Linked DNA regions of Homo sapiens: all the other regions are linked to region 1. The links are contacts of gene promoters, found by promoter capture Hi-C in blood cells and fetal thymus (Javierre and others, 2016). All regions are on one chromosome and are shown on one strand. The core of a region is centred on a gene start or on the middle of the fragment in contact, and the rest is flanking DNA. Distances in the headings are between cores, read along the strand shown. Region 1 holds the start of DARS2 (aspartyl-tRNA synthetase 2, mitochondrial). Region 2 overlaps MRPS14 (mitochondrial ribosomal protein S14). Region 3 holds the start of FASLG (Fas ligand). Region 4 overlaps RABGAP1L (RAB GTPase activating protein 1 like). Region 5 overlaps RABGAP1L (RAB GTPase activating protein 1 like). Region 6 has its middle 55 kb from the start of FASLG. Region 7 has its middle 72 kb from the start of FASLG.

The links. Contacts are between HindIII fragments. The CHiCAGO score rates a contact against its expected background, and 5 or more counts as called.
Region 2: a contact is called between a fragment that was not itself captured here and the fragment with the promoter of DARS2 in region 1, in 1 of 17 cell types (neutrophils). The highest score is 9.0, in neutrophils.
Region 3: a contact is called between the fragment with the promoter of FASLG here and the fragment with the promoter of DARS2 in region 1, in 6 of 17 cell types (naive CD4 T cells, total CD8 T cells, activated CD4 T cells and 3 more). The highest score is 12.6, in naive CD4 T cells.
Region 4: a contact is called between a fragment that was not itself captured here and the fragment with the promoter of DARS2 in region 1, in 1 of 17 cell types (neutrophils). The highest score is 11.2, in neutrophils.
Region 5: a contact is called between a fragment that was not itself captured here and the fragment with the promoter of DARS2 in region 1, in 1 of 17 cell types (neutrophils). The highest score is 5.6, in neutrophils.
Region 6: a fragment that was not itself captured here is called in contact with the fragment with the promoter of DARS2 in region 1 in 2 of 17 cell types (total B cells and naive B cells); the score reaches 5.7 in total B cells.
Region 7: a fragment that was not itself captured here is called in contact with the fragment with the promoter of DARS2 in region 1 in 8 of 17 cell types (total B cells, naive B cells, naive CD4 T cells and 5 more); the score reaches 13.7 in total B cells.

The regions. Positions count from the first base shown.
Region 1 is chr1:173,823,215-173,826,286 of GRCh38, forward strand. DARS2 (aspartyl-tRNA synthetase 2, mitochondrial) reads left to right here and starts at 1,459. Exons shown (of 17, transcript NM_018122.5): 1 at 1,459-2,142. The coding sequence starts at 2,016. CENPL (centromere protein L) reads right to left here and starts at 1,669. Exons shown (of 6, transcript NM_001387287.1): 1 at 998-1,669; 2 at 712-805. RefSeq lists enhancers at 946-1,185, 1,163-1,681, 1,416-1,975, 1,682-2,199, 2,841-3,072. The HindIII fragment of the contact is 2,471 bases long and covers 1,356-3,072 here.
Region 2 is chr1:175,013,604-175,016,675 of GRCh38, forward strand. MRPS14 (mitochondrial ribosomal protein S14) reads right to left here. Exons shown (of 3, transcript NM_022100.3): 3 at 1-1,248. The coding sequence ends at 1,066. Among named protein-coding and RNA genes, the nearest start is that of MRPS14, 8.3 kb to the right of the region's middle. The HindIII fragment of the contact is 1,233 bases long and covers 1,025-2,257 here.
Region 3 is chr1:172,657,434-172,660,505 of GRCh38, forward strand. It overlaps FASLG (Fas ligand), which reads left to right and starts at 1,670. Exons shown (of 4, transcript NM_000639.3): 1 at 1,670-2,116; 2 at 2,662-2,707. The coding sequence starts at 1,769. The HindIII fragment of the contact is 3,765 bases long and covers 1-3,072 here.
Region 4 is chr1:174,988,468-174,991,539 of GRCh38, forward strand. RABGAP1L (RAB GTPase activating protein 1 like) reads left to right here. Exons shown (of 26, transcript NM_001366446.1): 25 at 174-371; 26 at 1,382-3,072. The coding sequence ends at 1,534. Among named protein-coding and RNA genes, the nearest start is that of CACYBP, 9.9 kb to the right of the region's middle. The HindIII fragment of the contact is 8,943 bases long and covers 1-3,072 here.
Region 5 is chr1:174,968,179-174,971,250 of GRCh38, forward strand. It overlaps RABGAP1L (RAB GTPase activating protein 1 like), which reads left to right. Exons shown (of 26, transcript NM_001366446.1): 21 at 1,099-1,209. Among named protein-coding and RNA genes, the nearest start is that of RABGAP1L-AS1, 15 kb to the left of the region's middle. The HindIII fragment of the contact is 6,694 bases long and covers 1-3,072 here.
Region 6 is chr1:172,712,858-172,715,929 of GRCh38, forward strand. No RefSeq gene overlaps it. Among named protein-coding and RNA genes, the nearest start is that of FASLG, 55 kb to the left of the region's middle. The HindIII fragment of the contact is 611 bases long and covers 1,226-1,836 here.
Region 7 is chr1:172,729,297-172,732,368 of GRCh38, forward strand. No RefSeq gene overlaps it. Among named protein-coding and RNA genes, the nearest start is that of FASLG, 72 kb to the left of the region's middle. The HindIII fragment of the contact is 2,306 bases long and covers 513-2,818 here.

The DNA.
Region 1 (3,072 bases), core at 209-2,708:
ACACATCTATATGAAGTCAAATCAGAATTCCTGTCTGGCTTTCAAGGCACTACTGTATTTGATCTTATTATCTGATCCTATCCAGGTTCATTTTCTACTACTTCAGTTCTTCCCCAAGATCCATCGACATTAGCCTTTCCAAAATCCAACATTCTGCATACACTTCCTCTAAGGTTTTGTATACAACATTGGGGGGTGGGGGGATGGGAGTGAAGAAAGTTCCAGTAGACAATTCTTTAAGAGGTTAAATGACAGCCCTATACCCAAACATGCACCCCCTACTCTAGACAGATGATCACTCTACTGTTCTCCCTGCCTTTTTATTCACCTTATCGCCAATTAAAAACACTTCTCTACTCCCGTTTGTCTCAGTAAATCTTATCCATTTTCCATGTGCCATCTCCTCAGAAGTTTTCCTGAGCTTGGCAGGGCTAGTTCTCTTGACAATTCCACTTGCAGTTGTGGTTCACAGCACACAAGTAAAGCTTTGTTGTTTCTCTTGTGATTAGTCCGTGAAGGGGCTCTGACTTGATCACTTTTCTACATTGCCACCAATACCTAAATCCAACCGCCCCAATGCCAATACTTAGCCAGTGTTAAGCACGTAGTGTTTAAACACACCTCAACACGCAAGTATTGTAAGATAATGACCACACAACAGGGCAAATACAAAGTTAAAGCAGGTCCGGGACCAATACAAAGCATCTTTACCAATAAAATGCCGTGATGACGCTGTCACCCATTCCGGATTCACGAATCATTCTTCAAAAGTCCGGCTCCAAAACTATGTGGAGACTGAAATCCCCTGAAGAAAAAAAAAAAAAACCGCCAAAATGACAGCTAAGACAGAGGCCAGACTAACCCCTGGCCCTCCCAAATTCCCTCTCGCTCCACAAGTGGGTTCACAAGAGACACAAACGCACCCAGGAAGACCTCCGCTCCCTCAGACGCGGGGCGGGCCCTGCGACTTCACTCTGGGAGGGACATTTCCGCTCACCCAGCTCTGCGACCCTCGCTCCTGCGGAGTCAGCTTCTGCTCGCGGAGGGGGAAGGGCAAAAGGACAGTGCGTCCCAACCCGTCCCTCTCCAGCTGAGCCTGTCAGAGACCAGCCCAGCTCTGAAATCAAGCCGTTGAGAAAAGGGAATTCGGCCCTCCGCCGCCTCTTCAGTTTAAAATCGTTTCCCGACTCGCTCTGCGGCCCCACGCAGGAAGCCTCCTTGGCGCCTCGCCGATTCCGTATCAGTGAAGCAACTAAAATTGCCATTTTAACTGAGGGCAAGGCCGAGCCACTTAACCACTATCGTCAACCTTTCCAATCGTGCTCGGTTGCTCCTCAGTTTTCCTACCGGTGCGAAGCTTTCTCTCAAATTTCCGCCCGTAGTAGGCATGGCGGCGGCACCTCACCACTGATTCGTTGAATTCCTTCCCGGTAATCTTGGGCACTAGCGGGCGGAGTTGAAGGGCGCTTGGACCCCAGCGGCGATCTGTGTTTGGGTTCGCGCTCTGGGAGAATTTTGGCTTTGCTCGCCTTCCTCTTTCAGAAGACTCGAAATCGGCCAGCAGGTCTGCGAGATTTGAAACGCGACTGTTACTCCTTGTTTTCCGGTTCTGGCCGCGGGAGCCTCTCGAGAAGCGTGGAAAGAGGAGAAGGGCGTATACCTTGTGACCGCCTCTGGTTGTCTTGGGCTCGCGCCTGGCGCCGCTACGTGGAGTCGCTCTCTCGTCGTCACTTTTGGCTGCCGACTTGTTGAGTAGAAGTGCAGACTGATGCTTTAAGACTCAGGGAGAGGTCTTTCCCTTATCTCCACCCCAGCAAGCACCCCAGAGACCTTGGAGATTTGTCTTGTTTCTAGACACGTGTACTCCAATGTTGTGCGGAGGAGGCCTTAAATATTCGAGAAGAGAGTGGGAACTCCTGGAATTTTAAGGGATTTCTGTGTATTTCCAAAACTGACTTTTAACTACCGGCAGCGTGGGATTTCGTGATTGTTTTTCGCCATCGTGTGGCTCCAACATGTACTTCCCTTCTTGGTTAAGTCAGCTGTACAGGGGTTTATCCAGACCCATCAGAAGGACCACCCAACCGATCTGGGGTTCTCTCTACAGAAGTCTGTTGCAGAGTTCACAGAGGAGAATTCCAGGTGAAAATAGCGAAGAGATCTATCCTATGAACAGTACTTCAGCCTGTTATCTACGGCCGGAGAGCTTTTATTCCATTTTTCATTTTTTCCCCCATTATTATTATTATTATTATTATTATTATTATTATTTGAGACGGAGTCTCGCTCTGCTGCCCAGGCTAGAGTGAAGTGGCGCGATCTCCGCTCACTGCAAGCTCCGCCTCCCGGGTTCACGCCATTCTCCTGCCTCAGCCTCCCGAGTAGCTGGGACTACAGGCGCCCGCGACCACGCCCGGCTAATTTTTCTGTATTTTTGGTAGAGCCGGGGTTTCACTGTGTTAGCCAGGATGGTCTCGATCTCCTGACCTCGTGATCCACCCGCCTCCGCCTCCCATAGTGCTGGGATTACAGGCGTGAGCCACCGCGCCCGGCTTTTCCCCTGTTCTTAACTGGATAGCCTTATGTGTAGAAGCGAAATTCACTCTCATTATATTCATTATACGGCAGTTTTTTTTCCCTGAGTTTTTAGAAAGACCACAAAAAGGTAACCACGTAATATATAGAATACTCTGCTTTTGGTTGATGCCTTAAAAAAATCCTTCTTCGGCCGGGCGCGGTGGCTCACGTCGTTAATCCCAGCACTTTGGGAGGTCGAGGAGGGCGGATCACGAGGTCAGGAGATCGAGACCATCCTGGCTAACACGGTGAAACCCCGTCTCTACTAAAAATAAAAAAAAAATTAGCCGGGCGTGGTGGCGGGCGCCTGTAGTCCCCGCTGCTGGGGAGGCCGAGGCAGGAGAATGGCGTGAACCTCGGAGGCGGAGCTTGCAGTGAGCCGAGATCGCGCCACTGCACTCCAGCCTGGGCGACAGAGCGAGACTCCATCTCAAAAAAAAAAAAAAATCATTTTTCACAGAATTATAATAGTGTTTTCTAGTGTACAAGTGGCTG
Region 2 (3,072 bases), core at 391-2,890, 1.2 Mb after region 1:
GCCACACAGCTGTCACTTACCTGTATTACAAACTGATGATGTCATTCCTGTGCTTAAAACTCTGTAATACCTGGTATGTCAGTCTTAATTCCTTCACATGATTTGTGAGATCCTCCACAATACGGGCCTTGTCTTGTGCTTCATATTTCTGATCTACTGAAGTGACTGTGGTTCTCTGATGCTACAGAGTGCCTTTGCTTCTTTGTGCTTTTGTTCCCTCTGTGTGCAGAAAAAAATCTCACCCCTCACCTCCTGATTTATTAAGTTCTCCAGGAATATTTTCCTGATGTTAAGTAGGTACTTCCATTCAGTATGTATATTTTTATCACTGGGCTGATGATCACACTGTTGAGTTACTGAATGAGAACTTTGTGCTACCCTTACTCATTTCTGTTATGGATTAAATAAACATAAAAATAGGGAATATATACTGTTCCAACAAACTTTTCCTCTTTAGATGGAGACTTTCAAGGACTTAAAGAGGCATAATTTGTTTTAAAGTCCCTTAAGGATGGACAAGAAAACACTTAGTGGTTCTTTTGTTCAGCCATCACAAGAAGAAGTGGAGCATTAGATAATCCAGAACAGCAGCCTTGCTATCCAATCTGTTTATCTAACAATAATAGTTAAGGGGAGCTCTGCAGGTCAGCAAAGCTAGTCCAGGATTACAAACTGCCATACATGAGCTACATGTCAATTAGTTGGATTATGTATAAGATAGCATTTTATGAAATAATGCTCTTAATACAAAAACCCCTATATGTTACTAAAAGATTAAACTTAAAAGGAGGGTATAAAAAACATTCACAGAAAATATTTATTATGCTACTCTTTGTACTATGTATGGGAACAGTATGTTTGTTAAGTCCAAGAGAAAAGATAATTCACTGACATGAAACACCCAAATGTCTTCATTTTAAAAGTAGTTTAGAGATAGCATCAGGTAGGCCAAACAACTGTACTGGGCCCCTGTAGAGATTAGGGTTTGGTCTATTAAAAAAAATCTTTGCTTGCTGGAACTGCAAGCTTGGCTTCCCTGCAAGCTCAATAGGTTCTGGAGCTCATTTACCATGTCGCTCGCTGGATCCCAGAAAGTTGCCCATGGTCAGCTAAGTGACGGAAGACTATACGACTAAGCCTCCAGCGCCGCTTCACACCACGCGGACGGGACGTCATAACACACCGATTTCTGATTCTAACAGGACAGCTATCCCGGGGGAGGGCAGCAATTTCTTCATCAGCCACATCCTAAGGGAAATCACATTATTACACAGATCACATTACATTGTTGCACATGTATTTTGCTCCTTCTCACTTGCAGGTAATTTTCTTTTCTTTTTTTTTTTTTTTTGAGACAGAGTCTCGCTCTGTCACCCAGGCTGTGGGTGTTAGATTGTGCAATGTCACAATCTCAGCTCACTGCAACCTCCGCCTCCTGGGTTCAAGTGATTCTCCTGCCTCAGCCTCCCGAGTAGCTGAGATTACAGGTGTGCACTACCACACTCAGCTAATTTTTTGTATTATTAGTAGAAACGGGGTTTCACCACGTTGCCCAGGCTGGTCTCAAACTCCTGAGCTCTGGCAATCCGCCCATCTCTGCCTCCCAAAGTGCTAGGATTACAGGTGTGAGCCACAGCGCCTGGCCACTGGCAGGTAATGTTCATTGCATGAGTACCATAATTCATTTATCCATCCTACATTTGATGGTCATCTTACGATTTGGGCGAATATAAATAGTGCAGCTACATACTCTTGTTTAACTCATTTGTAAAGTATGTGAATGTATTTCTGTTGCCGCCTCATGTTTTTTGAATCACGAAAGTGAAACCTCTGGAATGATGATCAAATAGGAGGGAATGTGGCTTGAGATAAGACTAGAGAAGGAGGAAGGAGAGTATCACATGGAGCCCTGATGTCTATGGTAAAGATTCTGACAGCTAGAGAAGTAAAGGGGAGAGATCAGATGAGGTTTATATTTAAAAAAAATCATTTGCAAGGTAGAGGATGAATCAGGTAAGGGCAAAGTGGTTGAGGGGAGAAAAGTAGGGATTACAGCAGTAGCTAGGGCTCAGGTTTTGTCAGTAGAGATTTCTTCTTATGTATGTGTTCAAGAGTGTGAGTGTTCATAATATTCACTTTAATCTGATAAGTGTGCTAACAAGTAGATGGACCCTGTGCTAGACTGCGGTGCAAGCAAAATAACACATTAAAATAACACAAATTAAATGAAAGTATATAAAAGCCAAAAATTAACAAAAGCTTATGCATGTGTTACCATTATGAACTAACAGAATTACATAAAACAACATGATTGCCAGGCACAGTGGCTCACGCCTATAATCCCAGCACTTTGGGACGCCGAGGCAGGCGGATCATCTGAGGTCAAGAGTTCGCGACCAGCCTGACCAACATAGGGAAACCCCATCTCTACTAAAAATACAAAATTAGCTGGGTGTGGTGGCACATGCCTGTAATCCCATCTGGCCGGGAGGCTAAGGCAGCAGAATCGCTTGAACCCAGGAGGCAGATGTGGTGAGCCCAGATTGTGCCACTGCACTCCAGCCTGGGCAACAAGAGCAAAACCCCATCTCAAAAAAAAAAAAACAAAAAAAAACCATGATTGAGCCATTGAGTAGTAAACAATAAATGCTATACAAGGAACTGGAGAGGAGAAATGACTGGGCAAGAAGATTGAAGCCAAGTTTCATGGAGGTGGACCTTAAAGAATGGCTAGAAATTATGGATTGATTGATTGATACATACCCCTTCCTTCTTGTTCCCCGAAAGATTTAAGGCAGTTTACAAATGAGGAAACTGGGGCAAAGAGAAATGAGAGTAGGAAAGATAAAAGCCTCAGGACACAAAAGTGCATGCTGTGAAATTAGAACTGGGACATAAATTTGACTTGTAAGCTACTTGGCAGGCAGCAGAGAACCATGATCAGTTTACATGATTCACAGACTCTGCACAGTTATTGCTGCTAGTCATACCAGAGACATGTCTTCTGGGTATCTTCATAAAGGTACTCAAACAACACACCCCCAGCTGTATTAATGTATAGTTGACAAATAA
Region 3 (3,072 bases), core at 420-2,919, 1.2 Mb before region 1:
AAGTTATTGGCATATAAATGGTATGTGAGGCCAGAGGAAATGGTGAGATGAGCCCAAGTAGAGAGGCCAGCTTTAAACAACAACAACAACTACCAAAAAAAAAAAAAAAAAAAAAAAAGCAAAACAAAGAAATAGGACACAGAGTTAGATTTGAATGTCAGATATATGATGAATAATTGTTTAGTATATTCCATGTTTGGACATGTTTAAGACCTACTTGTCCTAAAAATAATGTATTATTTATCTGAAATTCAAATTTAACTGGGCACCATGTATTTCATCTGGCAACCATAACAGGGGCAGCACACAGAAATGTTGGCAGGGACCAGGCAGGCCTTTCAGATAGTGAGGTGGTGTGTGAGACACAGGCCAGTGGTGGAGGCTGGGTGACCCAGAACTCCTGTCTCTCATTCTCAGGGGCAGCTGCTACATACTTCCCACTGATTGGGTTTGCAGAGATGGCCTCGAGGGTGTCTGATATTCTGATATTTCAAAACAGAATAGAAATATGTATTTTAATGTGTATTTAATATATATATTTTAAAATATTTTTAATGTTGATATTAAAAGTGGTCAGTTGGGCTCAGTGCAGTGGCTCATGCCTGTAATTCCAGCACTTTGGGAAACTGAGGCAGGAGGATGTCTTGAAGCTAGGAGTTTGAGACAAGCCTGGGCAACATAGCAAGTCCCCATCTGTACAAAAAAAAAAAAGAATAAATTAGTCAGGTGTAGTGACTTATGCCTATAATCCCAGCTACTCAGGAGGCCAAGGCAAGAGGATTGCTTGAGCCCAGGAGTTTGAGGCTGCAGTTAACTACGATAGCACCACTGCACTCCAGCCTGGGTGACAGAGTGAGACTCTGTCTCTATTTAAATAAATAAGTAAATAAATAAACTGGGCAAACAATGAAAATGAAAACATTGCGAAATACAAAGCAGCTCTGTGGGTTCCACTGGTTTGCAGCCTCTGATCTAATTTCTAAAGTGGGTGTAGCAGGTTTTTAACCTGTAAATTATGGTGATCGGCAGGTCAGGGTAAATGGTAGTTGTGTGTGGGGAAGAGATGATGGCAACAGATGTTTTCCTCCTGCAAAAACTAAAATGTGGGAGTGACTTCTCTGGCCATGACTCCATGGTCTCTCCCCTCAGAGCCATTTTCAGTAAAATTTTTATAGTTTAAAAAATACGGTTCTGAACAATTTTTGTTAGAGTTATTTTGGGATTTTTAAATAGTTTTTTGGTTGTGTATATGGTAGAATTCTTAAAATTATACAATTATAATGTATAAAAAAGCATGCAATTATAATTCATAAAATTATAGCCCCACTGACCATTCTCCTGTAGCTGGGAGCAGTTCACACTAACAGGGCTATACCCCCATGCTGACCTGCTCTGCAGGATCCCAGGAAGGTGAGCATAGCCTACTAACCTGTTTGGGTAGCACAGCGACAGCAACTGAGGCCTTGAAGGCTGTTATCAGAAAATTGTGGGCGGAAACTTCCAGGGGTTTGCTCTGAGCTTCTTGAGGCTTCTCAGCTTCAGCTGCAAAGTGAGTGGGTGTTTCTTTGAGAAGCAGAATCAGAGAGAGAGAGATAGAGAAAGAGAAAGACAGAGGTGTTTCCCTTAGCTATGGAAACTCTATAAGAGAGATCCAGCTTGCCTCCTCTTGAGCAGTCAGCAACAGGGTCCCGTCCTTGACACCTCAGCCTCTACAGGACTGAGAAGAAGTAAAACCGTTTGCTGGGGCTGGCCTGACTCACCAGCTGCCATGCAGCAGCCCTTCAATTACCCATATCCCCAGATCTACTGGGTGGACAGCAGTGCCAGCTCTCCCTGGGCCCCTCCAGGCACAGTTCTTCCCTGTCCAACCTCTGTGCCCAGAAGGCCTGGTCAAAGGAGGCCACCACCACCACCGCCACCGCCACCACTACCACCTCCGCCGCCGCCGCCACCACTGCCTCCACTACCGCTGCCACCCCTGAAGAAGAGAGGGAACCACAGCACAGGCCTGTGTCTCCTTGTGATGTTTTTCATGGTTCTGGTTGCCTTGGTAGGATTGGGCCTGGGGATGTTTCAGCTCTTCCACCTACAGAAGGAGCTGGCAGAACTCCGAGAGGTAAGCCTGCCGGCAGACTGCTGTGCCCTGGAGGCACCAGGCATAAGGGGATGGAGGGCCCACTGCCTGGCTTGCAAAGTGCTTTTCAATCCTTTTTTTTTTTTTCTTAGAAATGGGTTGTTCTAGTTATTCTATTCTATAGACAGAGAAATGGAGGCTCATAGGGGTGAAGGGAATATTTTTTACTTTGTAAAGAATCAGAGCCCAACAGTTTGTCTTTCCTCAGTTGTCAACTCAGTCTGTTGAACCACTTACTGCCTCATACCTATTGATTTAAGGAGTAAAAAACAAACAAACAAAACTTTTAAGTTTTGCTTGGAAGTAAATTTGTTCAGATGACCAAACTAAATCTTGAAAATTGGTACGATTCCAAATCACAAAACTGAGGGACAGTGAGGCAAAATTGCTTGGCCAAAGCCCAAGTTAGCAGAACTTCTGAGGTATTTGGATTCTCTTTCCAGGGCTTGGTTTATTTGACGATTCTGCCTCTTTTGCTTAAAGAATTTTATTTTTATTATACATCTTTTCTCTTTCTGTTTTACTAGTCTACCAGCCAGATGCACACAGCATCATCTTTGGAGAAGCAAATAGGTGAGTCTTTTTTCGCATGTACATTGAGTTCCCAAAGATGATCCTCAGCACAGAACTATGTTAATGGAATGCCTTAAATTCTGTCCCACACTTTGGTTTCTGTACACTATAAGAGGAATTCTGGCTAATTCAGAATCTCTGGTCTATGATTCCTTGAGCTGCTTTAAAAATGTGAAGTGAATTGAATTGCTCACAATCAATATAGCTGAGCACTGCACACAATTCAAAATCACTTCCACTTGACTTTGGAAAGAGACACACATATACAACCCTGGACCTTTGCCCCCTGAGAAGTGGCTCCAGGCCTGTCCCCTTCCACAGACATCCTGGTCCTGGCACACACGCCAGTGGCTGTAACTCCTGGG
Region 4 (3,072 bases), core at 171-2,670, 1.2 Mb after region 1:
TAGTTGGGTTCGGGCTAATGATTTTGATTGCAGCACAAGAAAAATAATTAACCTTCAGAAATGGGCCTGCATCTATGACAATAAGCAGCATCTAAAAAAGTCATAAATTGTTTCAGAAGGTGATTTAGCCTATGGAATAGTTTGATGTTGGTTATCTCTTTTGGATACTTTAGGGTAAGATGATGGCATGCAAACACTGCAGTGACATTTTCAGCAAGGAGGGTGCTTTGAAACTAGCAGCCACAGGCAGAGAGGACCAGGGAATTGAAACAGATGATGAGAAGGACTCACTTAAGAAGCAGCTGAGAGAGATGGAACTGGAACTGGCACAAACCAAACTGCAGTTGGTGGAGGCCAAGTGTAAAATTCAGGTTGGTGATTTGATAAAAGAACAAGAAGAAAGAATAAACAATTAATGGTCCAGGATACTCTAGTACTTCAGAATACACCTATCTAGGTCAGAATTGTATGATGAATACATTTTCTGTCTGCTAATGTGTCCTGCATAATCACATTTTATATCATGTATTCTTAACGCTGATATAAACAAATATATAATTTTAAATGAAATTTTAATAATTAAAATTATATCTTATGGGAATTTAATTAAGCATATGCTTGTTTTTTTTACCCTGAGATTTTTTGCTTACATCCTTTCTCACAGAATGTGGTCACTTCAGTGGCTGATCCTGAAAATGAAAAACCAAACCCCCTCTGCTGTGTCTACCCTGAGAGTCACACATTGGCTGACACCCGTTCTTTCCTTTAGAGCTTCTTTTTATCTTTAGCTCATTTTGTCAAACCTCTTTCCCCATTATCTTTCTCCATATTGGCGCATAATATAATTAGAAATAGTCCTGGCTTCTGATGGACTCTTCTTCATTTCATTTTCCCAGTGATCCCTACCAGCACCATGGCTGCCATGTCACCAGCCTCCACCACACCAGCCAGCTTCCACCATGTGTCTGCTCTGACCTTGGACATTCTTAGGGCAAAGCCTATTTCTTTGGAACTGGAATTCATTCATGCTTCTACTATCAGTAAAAATTCATCCATATGTTTACATTTATTTGTGGTTTTTAAACCTGTTATATCGGATTGCAACCTAAACCTAAATTTGGACCTAACTTGCAGGGAAAAAAAGAATAAAATGAGCTTTTCTTTCACTGTTTAAAGAAAGCACAGATTCTAGATTTTTGATAAGTCTTTTAGCTCTTAACTTTATCCTTGTACTAAGAAGCCAATTCAATCTCTCCTGGGTTTTGTGGGAGGAAAATTGGCAGCACATACCTTGAGACTCCAAAAAGCTGCACACTTTTATTTATTTATTGGCAAAGAGAAAACATTTATTTAACTCAGATGATTTTCTTGCTTTAATTAGGAACTTGAACATCAGAGAGGAGCCCTTATGAATGAAATCCAAGCTGCGAAAAACTCTTGGTTTAGCAAAACCCTGAACTCTATCAAAACGGCCACGGGCACCCAGCCATTGCAGCCAGCACCGGTCACCCAGCCACCCAAGGAGAGCACATAGTTCCAGCCTTACCCAAGCACAAGAGCACAATGTTCAAACCAATGGAAATCTGGGAGGATTCTTCCTGGTGTCCCTTTGAAGGAAAGTCAAGGAGGCCAGAAAACAAGCCAGAATTTTTCAGTAGCTCTCACTCTTTCTTGTATGACACTTTTCAAAGGGATGCTATTTAAACTGACCTGTTCTATGTTGAATACCTATTTTCCAGCTTCTGGAAGGCCATGTTCAGATCCATCATAGTATTACACATTATTTTGTTTGCCTGATGTTTAGTTGGAAATAAGTAATTCAGAACTAAATGCTTTTTTATTTAGAATTATTCATAATTATTTTTATCTTACATAAAAATGGAGACATCTGTTATTCCAAGGTTGAAGTGATAAGAAGATCTTTGTCACAGGAAAAAAAAAATTGAAACCTAAACATCTTAAGTTTTCAGGATTTATTCAGATAAAGCACACTGTGGGGCCAGGCATGACCACTCTCAGGTTTCCTCCTGAGCCTGATTCCCAGGGAAGTGTTAATCCTGTCCAAAGGAAAGAACCAATCAGCGATCATTGGTTTACTTTCATTTTCTGTTCGGTACATCTGGAAATGAAGTGCCAGGAATAGACGGGCTGTTCAGATTATACGCTAGGTAAAAGGAACTGAAATTTTAATAAGTGTAGGTCAGGATCATTTGGGCTGTGGTATTCTAACAGATCCTTTTAAGAATGCCACATAGGACTTGTGAGTTCCTAAGTACACCAAAGTATGGACACAGATGTGACTTCTGGCAATTATAAAGTTAAAGGTGGATATTGCACCTTACAGACTTAGGGAGCCTTTACCAGAGACGCCTAAAAAGCCCCAGGTTCAGCCATTGTGCTGAATAGAGTGGAATATAGAACCAGGGACAGAGTATTTCATTTAACGTTGATATATACTTGCTAAGGAAACACTAACAATACTGTAACTTTGTTAAAGGACATAGTATTGAAATGGGAAATAGAGGTCAGGCTCACATCATCTTAGTTTAATGCTGGGCAACTTTTTCTGATTTCTGTAGTTCCCTGAAAATGTGTCCTTCGTACCCATAAAGAGATACAAATGCATTTGTAACATTTTTGATTGAATATAAAACCTTTACAGAAATACTTATCTCATGGAAAGGTAAAGCTATTGTTTAAAAATTAGTGGAAATATTTTTTCAATTATATTTAACATGCCTATAAAAATAGTCCTTGCAGGAAATTATTTGATAAGAGCAAAACTATTTTTATTTTATAAACTATTTTGGAGGCCTCTGATCCTTTCAAACCAACCAAACTACTATTAGATATGTACAATAACATTTGTTGATATTAATCATTGGCCTCATTGTTGAACATATTATTTGCAAAGAATCTTAAACTCTGTAGTGCCAGAATGATTCTCATCTGTGCCATATTTTGCAATTAAAAGTAACACACCCTTAGAAGAATCAAATAAGAGCCATCTACATCCCAGGAGGATGCACCAAGTTGCTCACAGTGGATCTTTTCCTCTAAAATGATCTTTTA
Region 5 (3,072 bases), core at 373-2,872, 1.1 Mb after region 1:
CCTGGTATGCTATGATAAACTATCTTCCAAAACATATATTTGTCTTCTAGTTTTTTGTCACTGCTTTGTCTGAGTTTTTGCCACCTTTGCAGAAAACACTGTTAGACGTGTAAATCTGAAAAACAGGAAGGTCTCATGACATTAGTCTTTCCTGTCAGCTCTCTTTTGAATCTCCTATAACTGTTAACAGTAGCAAAGAAAGCAATTTTGATACTTTGGAATGGAAGACATGAAATAGCTATTCTGAAAATAGTTGTGAACATACCAAGTTCATAGTGTTTAGTTAAGGAAAGGCCTTGCTTCATAAGAATTAGTGACTTGGTTTTTTTTTTTTCTTTCTTTTTGTTTGTTTGTTTGTTTCGTTTTTTTGTTTGTTTTTTTATCATGTAACTTTGTTTCAGATTTTTCAAGGTTGGGAGCAGAAATCCTCAGTAATTTATTTTACCCAGAATGTTTTAATCTGAAATTTTTTAAAAAACAAAAAAACTAGATATCTTATGACTGTTGCTCTCACACAAAAATAGGTGTTCAGAAAAGTAAATATATTCTTACTCAAAGAATAAAAATGTCAGCTGTTAGCAAAGTCATGAACCCATGTGTCATGATTCTTGATTTAGAGCTCTTAAATATACTCAATATGAACCCTGTCTTAGAAAAACAATTTGAAGAAATGTCTGGTGGTTTTCCCCTGTTTCATTCCTACTGTGTCTTGTGGTTTCTCTTGAGGTCAAGGGTGAGACTACCGTGCATGTTTCAAATAAAGAATTGTTTGTGTCTGTGTTCTAGATCTATGTAAAAACCTCACAGGATTGGGGGGGATATGCTCAGAAAGTTTGTTCTTTGTGGCACATTTTTTATAATGAAGTTCCATCTTGAGAGTTTAAGGGACCAGTTTCACCGGGTAGAGAACCGCATCTGCATTGCTAGCTAAACTCACTGTTGTTTCCCAGACAGCAATCCTGCCTTCCTGTGCCACTTGCGCCTTCTCCTTTTTACACCTTTGAAAGTTCACTTTGTTGCTTGTTTTTCCTCACCAGTTCTGTTCGTTTCTGTATGTCCAGACACTAATGCCCACCTCTGGCTATTGTTCTTCTGCAGAGGGAGAACCGAAGATTACAGGAGGCCAGCATGAGGTTGGAACAAGAGAATGATGACCTTGCCCATGAACTAGTAACAAGCAAAATTGCTCTACGGAATGACTTGGATCAGGTAATCCTTAGAAATGAGACTGTGATGACTTCCTCAGGGCAAAGACCGATTTGCCCTCATCACCGCCCCCACAAACTTGCTTTGTTCTTGACTTTGTTCTTGAGGAATGGACAAGTGGCAGGGACAGTCTGTTAATTGGAGACCATGGAAAACATAAGCCTTTGAGAAAGGTTTGGGTCATTTCTAAATAGCATGTGTGACATACTTTCTTTATACCTCTAAACTCTGTTATGTCTTTGTTGATACCTTTCCTGAACCAATGGCTGTCAGCATAATTATCTGAGAACATCAGTCACCAAGAATATGCCTGTACTAATGCCACTCTAACAGTAGATGCCTTACTTTTTGTTCCAGTAAGAATTATTCTCCATAATAAATGTGAACTTTTACATGAAGTACCTACATTAAGAGTTGGATTGTTAGATTGATAGGCATCTGAGTGGCTGAGAGCCAGACTGCCTGATTGTGAATGCTGGCACCACCACTGTGAACCATATGACCCTGGACAGTTCTTAAGCTGTCTATAGGTATAAAAAGGTGTCTATCTCATAGAGATGATATAACAATTAAATAAGTAAAACACTTCGATAGTATGTGTTCATTAAATGTTAGATGTAGCTGAGAGAGCTGGCACTAAAGGGAATTCAAAAACAAAAACAAAAACTGTGTTGTTTGGGACACAGGATATGGAAGGTAGAAAAAGCTGCCCAGAGAATGGTTTTTTAAAAAGTTGTGGCCCTGTTAACCACAAACCTCATTCAGCCCACCCATTTGGAAGCTGTGAGAAGTGGTATGAGAAATATGTGACTAGGAGAGTCAGAACCAAAGAAGGTAGCCGGATCTCCATTCAATCAGGGTCAATTCAGCCTTACCTCAGTGGTCATATTTTTGTATTCATGAGACTGTTGAGATAAGTCAGTGCTATAATGAAAGTCTTGGTTCTATGTTAACTTTCCAAATGGTCTTGATTCACACTTGATTCTGCCATTTTGAATCTTTTATCCATTAATAATTTTCTTATGATGGCTGACTAAATGAAACAATTTTTAAACAGTTGGATTCAGTGGGGATGCAGTGAAATGAGCTAAGGAGAGTTTCAAAGTTGTTTGGCAAATGTAGTTGGTAATATGTGTTAAGACGTTAAAAGGTTTAAGCAATAATAAAATTAAATTTTACTATGTACCCACTATGTGCCAAGCACTAAATAAAGCAATTTATAAACATCATCTCATTTAATCTCCCTAATGACTCCAGGAAGCAGTTATTATTTTAATCCTCCATTTCATGAATGAGGAAACTATATAGATGAGGAAACTAGAGATCCTCTGACTTGTAAAGCTATCCTAAAAAAAAAAGATCTGTTTAAAAAAAATGTATATACAAGGTTGTTTACTGCAGTGTTACTTATAAGAATGAAAAATAGAAATATTATTTTATCTATGTTCACTAGTAGGGGAGAATGACAGTTTGACTGTAAAATGTCTTTCTGGAATAATTTTTGTTAATGGGAAAATAATGATAAAGTATTTTTTTAAAAAATACTTTTTTTTTTCTGTAAACAGTAAACATTTATAATGTTTGCATCTAAATTTCAAGGGCTACTGGCTGGCATTGGGTCATCCTATAGGGAAGGGGACCATAGTATACCTAGATAGGGAAGAAGCCCACAAGGAAATACATCAAAATGTTACTGCTAGGTATCTCTGGGTGATAAGATTAAATATAATTTTTATATTCATCTTTATAGTTTTTTCCCATTTAGAATTTATAGAAAGACCCTAAATTACTTAACCACCATAGGTTAACTAAAAATGAGCATTGGAACTTTTAAAAATCAGAAAAATAATGAACATTATAATATGC
Region 6 (3,072 bases), core at 281-2,780, 1.1 Mb before region 1:
ATAAGAAAAATATCTGTGGTTTCCATTATCAGTCATATATACTGCTAATATTACTTTGGTTTATTTCGTACATTCATGTAAGAAGAGAATGTAAAATATTAGTTAGAAGTAAGCAAAAATAAAGGTGTTTTTTTTTCCATCTGAGTTCATGAACCCCTTGTATTTTATCCATGGGATCCTTGGGATATATGGACATCAGTTGATAAGTAATAACTCTGAGAAATGAAAGTGGGTAAGATAACCCATCTTCACTTAATTTTGTCAGGAGCTTGATAAGAGTCAACCCAATATTGATTGAGTGACTTAAGTAAAGATATAATTGTGAATTATGACAGAGATCCTTCAGTTTTAGATAACAAGAACAAAAGTTAACATTATATTGTAAAAACACTTTCAGTCTTCCATTTGCTTTTCTTTGTTATCTTGATTTTTAATTATTTATCGAATAACTTTTTAACAACAATGAAAAATACATCTTATTTCACTTTTCTCTCATGCCTTGGCAAAGAAGATAGAAATATAATTCTTTATGTTTGAATACATGAAAGAATGAGTGAATGAATTTGTTATTGGTATTCTTATTCTCTAGCTTCAGTCTTTCAATAAGTCTTTCTCTGAGATGCTAACAAGTAATATATAAAATTGATTACATAGAATTTCCTTGTCTTTTATCTCTCCAATCTTTTGCTTTGTGGAGATTTCAACACTTTTAGCAATAAAAAAATCATGTATTTGTATATTAAGGTCATTATATCATCAGCACCTGATTCACTGAAATTTCTTAAATTTAAGGACATCAGTGAATGACTGTCTGGTACTCAGAAAGTCCAGACAAGTGAGGCCTTTTCTTCTGCTTCCATTTTCCTTTTTTATGATTCATAGCTGACAGTGCAAAGACAGAGGTGAAAGAAACAGTGTAAAAGCAGGAAGACAGAAAGGGTGGTGAGAAGACAGAAAAGTAATAGTGAGACAAGGGGATGGAGGAGAAGAAAAATAAAAGAAATCTTTATTTGTGCCAAAAATGTACTATCATTTCATCATTCACATGGATCATTTGTAGCTGCTTTGTGTATACCTATGGGGTGATAAAGTTTCTATAAAAGGGTATCTCAAAGTGTGGACTGAAGAACGCCTGTGGTGTTTGTTTCTAATGTAGTTTCCTAGACCTGCCTCCCAATACACTGAATCAAAATCCCTGTGGGACCCAGTATTGTGCATTTTCACAAGCTTTCCAAGTGGTTCCAGTGCTCATAGAGAACCACTGATCTTGCTAAGAGGTAAAAACTTGGCTGACTCTTGCTAAGGTAAAGTGTATCTAATTTCCACCTTCTGAATTAGGCAGGAAAGAAAATCTGCTTTTTCACCCACTGATATCAACACTGCACTATAATTCAGGGATTTTGAAATTTGGCCAAATAATAGGTTAAGTGTTTTATTCATTTTAGCCAGTGATTAACAAGAAAAAATGGTAGCTTGCACACTGACTTAATTTGCATGGGCCTCTTGTTTTCCTCCTCAGCTTGTAAGAAAAGAAGGGACAGAATCAAGCTCTCCTGCTGATCCTGAGTATGTGAATTTGTTTAGGGGAGATTTTTACCCATGGGAATCTGCCAGTCATTCTTGGATGATAGCTAGCACAGGCAGAAATCTATATATTGAAGTACCTTTATATTATTCTCTAGAGAGAAAGAGCTATAAAACCAACCCCCAAATAATTTACCTCAGCTTTTGAAAGCATAGTCTTAATTATATTGCCTTTTCTTTTAGCATTGGGATTTGTCTTCCTAAGCCTCCTTTAAAATTCATTTTTTTCCTTTTTATGAAGGTACTTCATGAAGCTTAAGTATCCAAAATAGCCGTACTCACTGTAGAAGTCATCTAGAGCACTTTTCTAAGCTCTCTTTAGTCCACAATATTTCTATTAATTCCCCAGAGATACCAAACAACATTAAGAGGATCTCTGACAATCTGGCCATCTCTCTAGCCTCATTCCACATCTCAAGATCAGAAACAAAGATTCCTTAAATGTAAATGTAAAAGTAAAAAAAAATTAGATGAGAATGACACTATTTGAAGGTGCAAAATTCTGAGAGCGAAGTAAACTATCAACCTCCCTCTGATAATAAATAGAATACAATTTAAAAAGACAATACTAGTGATTTTGAAGTCTGTGATTTCTTTTTGAAGACAATTCTTCACATATGCATTTTTACTGATATTTAAGTAATTTCAAAACTGGCTATACAGCATTTAACTGAGGCACTAACCACTTTCTTGGTTTTCTTGGGATCACTGTCATTTAAAGGAAAGAGGCCTAAATCCTGGAAAAATAATCTATTTGAGAATTATGACAATTCCTTTCTACCAATCACCTGAATGACACACTATTATGCTTTTCAGGACAGACTCTTTACCTTAAGAATTAGTCAATCTACGTTACTCTGTTAACATTTTGTTATTTTATAGGTTAGATAATATAGTATCACTTCAAAGTTTAGAGTATTTTGAAGCATGAATTACAGAATTAACAGTTGTAAACAGGTTGCAAGAGATGGAGAAGTCAACCAACATCATCTTTCATCCTTCTGTGTACACAGCCTAGTGGTACTGTGGGTATCTGTTCATATTTAATAACTTCTGAGAAGTTGCTAAGTGGACTCCTAGTTGCTTCTTTTTTCATAATGTCCAAGGTTTCTTTGAGAAATTACTTTATTTATCAACTATGTAATAGGAACAAGTTTTAACCATGCAGGACTGATGAGAGTCTGTCTTAATTCATATGGACTGGCTTCTGTGTCTTTCTTATGACCTCCATACACTCTTGACTGCCAGTTCTGCTTTGCTTATCTGGATTGGGTTGGTCTGGAGTTGAAATATAACCAAGGACAACTGGATTTTTGTCCAGTGGATTATAATGTTTAAGTATTTTTACCGACTTTTGGAGAGAAGGCTGTTGAGGAAAGGTAGAAAGAACAGTTGTATATTTCTGACTCAAATGTGGTCCAAGGGGATGCCCTATGGACTGGAACATGGAAAGTGATCTTCCATTCTCTGTACTGGTTAGACTATACT
Region 7 (3,072 bases), core at 416-2,915, 1.1 Mb before region 1:
AAGAATTTCAGAGCTTGAAGACTGGTATTTGGAATTAACCCAGTCAGACAAAATCAAAGAAAAATGAATGCTAAAAAATGAACAAAGTCTTTAAGAAATATGGAATTATGTAAAGTGAGCAAACCCACAAATTACAGACATTCCTGAGGAAAAAGAAGAAAAAGTAAGTAGTTTGGAAAACATATTTAAGGAATAATTCAGGAAGATTTCTCTGATCTTATTAGAGATGTAAACATTTAGGTAGAAGAAATTCAGATAACAGCTGGAAGATACTATACAAGACAAACATCACCAAGGCATATAATCATCAGACTATCCAAGGTCAATGTGACAGAATAAATATTAAAGGGAGCTAGAGAGAAATGTCAAATCACTGATAAAATAAATTCCATCAGACTAACAGCAGACTTCTCAGCAGATGCCTTACAAGCTAGAAGAGAAAAGTGGGCCTATTTTTCACTTCTTTAAAGAAAAGAAAATGCTAGCCAAGAATTTTATATCCTGCCAAACTAAGCTTCATAAATGAAGGAGAAATAGACTTTTCCAGACAAGCAAATGATAAGGGAATTAATCACCACTAGACTGACCCTACAAGAAATGATCAAATTAGTCATAAATATGAAAACAAAAGGACAATACTTGCCATCATAAAAGCACATGTAAAAGAAAGCCCACAGACCCTATAAAGCAATTGTACAATTGAGACCCAAGGCAACTAGCTAACAATGCTATGACAGAAACAAAACTACACATTGAATATTAACTTTAAAAGTAAATGGCCAAAATGCTCCACATAAAATATATATACTATAGATCTAGGAAAACTGGATTAAAAGAACCAAGACCCAATCATCTTTTGCCTACAAGAGAACGACTTAATGGTTAAAGCACCTACGGACTCAAAGTAAAGGGATGGAAAACATGTACCATGAAAATGTAAAACAAAAGCAAATAGGAGTAGCCATCCTTATTGTATCAGATAAAACAAACTTTAAACCAACACAATTTTTTAAAAAGACTAAAAAGGGTATTATGTAATTATAAAGGGTTCAATACAACAAGCAGATTTAACCATCCTAAATATATGTGTACCCAACACCAGGGCATGCAGATTCATAAAACAAATACTGCCAGACCTAAGAGAAGAAATGGACAGCAATACAGTAGTAGTCAGGGACTTCAGCACTCCCCTGACATAACTAGAGAAGTCATGGAGGTAGAAAGTCAACAAACTCTGGACTTAAACTGAACTCTAGACCAAATGGACCTAATAGACATTTACAGAACATCCTACCCAACAACCACAGAATATACAGTTTTCTCACCTGCACATGAAACATTCTCCAAAACTGACCATATGCTTGGCCACAAAACAAGTCTCTACAACTTCGAAAAAATTTAAATCATATCAAATGTCTTCTTGGACCACAAGGAAATAAAATTAGAAATCAATGCCAACAGGAACCCTGAAACTTACACAAGTACATAGGAACTAAACAACTTGCTCCTGAATGACTTTTGGGTAAACAAAATTAAGGCCAAAATCAAATTTTCTTTGAAACAAATAATATAGAGGCACAAGATACCAAAACCTCTGGGAAACAGCAAAAGTAGTACTAAAGGGAAAATGTATAGCATTATATACCTACATAAAAAAGATAGAAAAATCTAAAATTAGCAGCCTAACTTTGCACTTCAAGGGACTAGAAAAGCAAGAGCAATCCAAACCCAAAGCTAGCAGAAGAAAAGAAATAACAAAGATCAAATCAGAACTAAATGAGATTCAGACAAAAAAAAATTACAAAGAATCAACAAAATGAAAAATTGATTCTTTGAAAGGATAAATAAAACAGGTAGATCACTAGCTAGTTTAAGCAAGAAAAAAGAATCATGTAAGCACAATCACAAATGGTAAAGGTGACAACATTACAACTGATACCACAGAAATACAAAAGATCTCCAGAACTGGCCCGGTGCAGTGGCTCATGCCTGTAATCCCAACACTTTGGGAGGGGGAGGCGGGCGGAACACCTGAGGTCAGGAGTTCAAGATCAGCCTGGCCAACATGTTGAAACCCCGTCTTTACTAAAAATAATAATAATTTAAAAATTGGCTGGGCATGGTGACGGGTGCCTGTAGTCCCAGCTACTTTGGAGGCTGAGGCAGGAGAATCGCTTGAACCCAGGAGAGGGAGGTCATAGTGAGCCAAGACTGTGCCATTGCACTCTAGCCTGGGCATTGAGAGTGAAACTTTGTCAGAAAACAAAACAAAACAACTCCAGAATTATCAACATCCCTATGTGTACACCCTAGAAAACCTGGAAGAAATGGATAAATTCCTGGAAACATGCAACCTTCCACGTTTGAACCAGGAAGAAATAGAAATCCTAAACAGACCAATAACAAGTAATGAAATTGAATCAGTAATAAAGAAAAATCTTTCTCCCAGCTAACACGGTGAAACTCAGTCTCTACTAAAAATACAAAAAAAAAAAAAAAAAAAAAAAAAAAAAAATTAGCCAGGCATGGTGGCGGGCGCCTGTAGTCCCAGCTACTCGGGAGGCTGAGGCAGGAGAATGGCGTGGACTCGGGAGGCGGAACTTGCAGTGAGCCGAGATCGCACCGCTGCACTCCAGCCTGGGCAACAGAGTGAGACGCCGTCTCAAAAAAAAAAAAAAAAAAAAAAAATCTTTCAACAAACAACAAAAGCCCAGGACCAGACAGATTTAAAAACAAATTTTACCAGATGTGCGAAGAAGAGCTGATACCAATCTTACCGTAGTTTTTTCACACCATTAAGGGGGAGCTATTCCTCCCAAGCTTGTTCTATGAAACCAGTATCACCCTGATACCAAAATCAGGCAATGACATTGAAAAAAAAAAAAAAAACTATGAGCCAATATTTCTGATGAACATATTCACAACAGCAAAGTCATGGAATTAACCTAAGTGTTGGTGAACATTTGACTGTATAAAGAAAATGGGTTATATATAGTATGCCACGTTTGCCTAACCCAGATTCACAAAGATTTTCCCCTGTGTTTTTTTTTTTCTAGAAGTTTTACAGTTAAG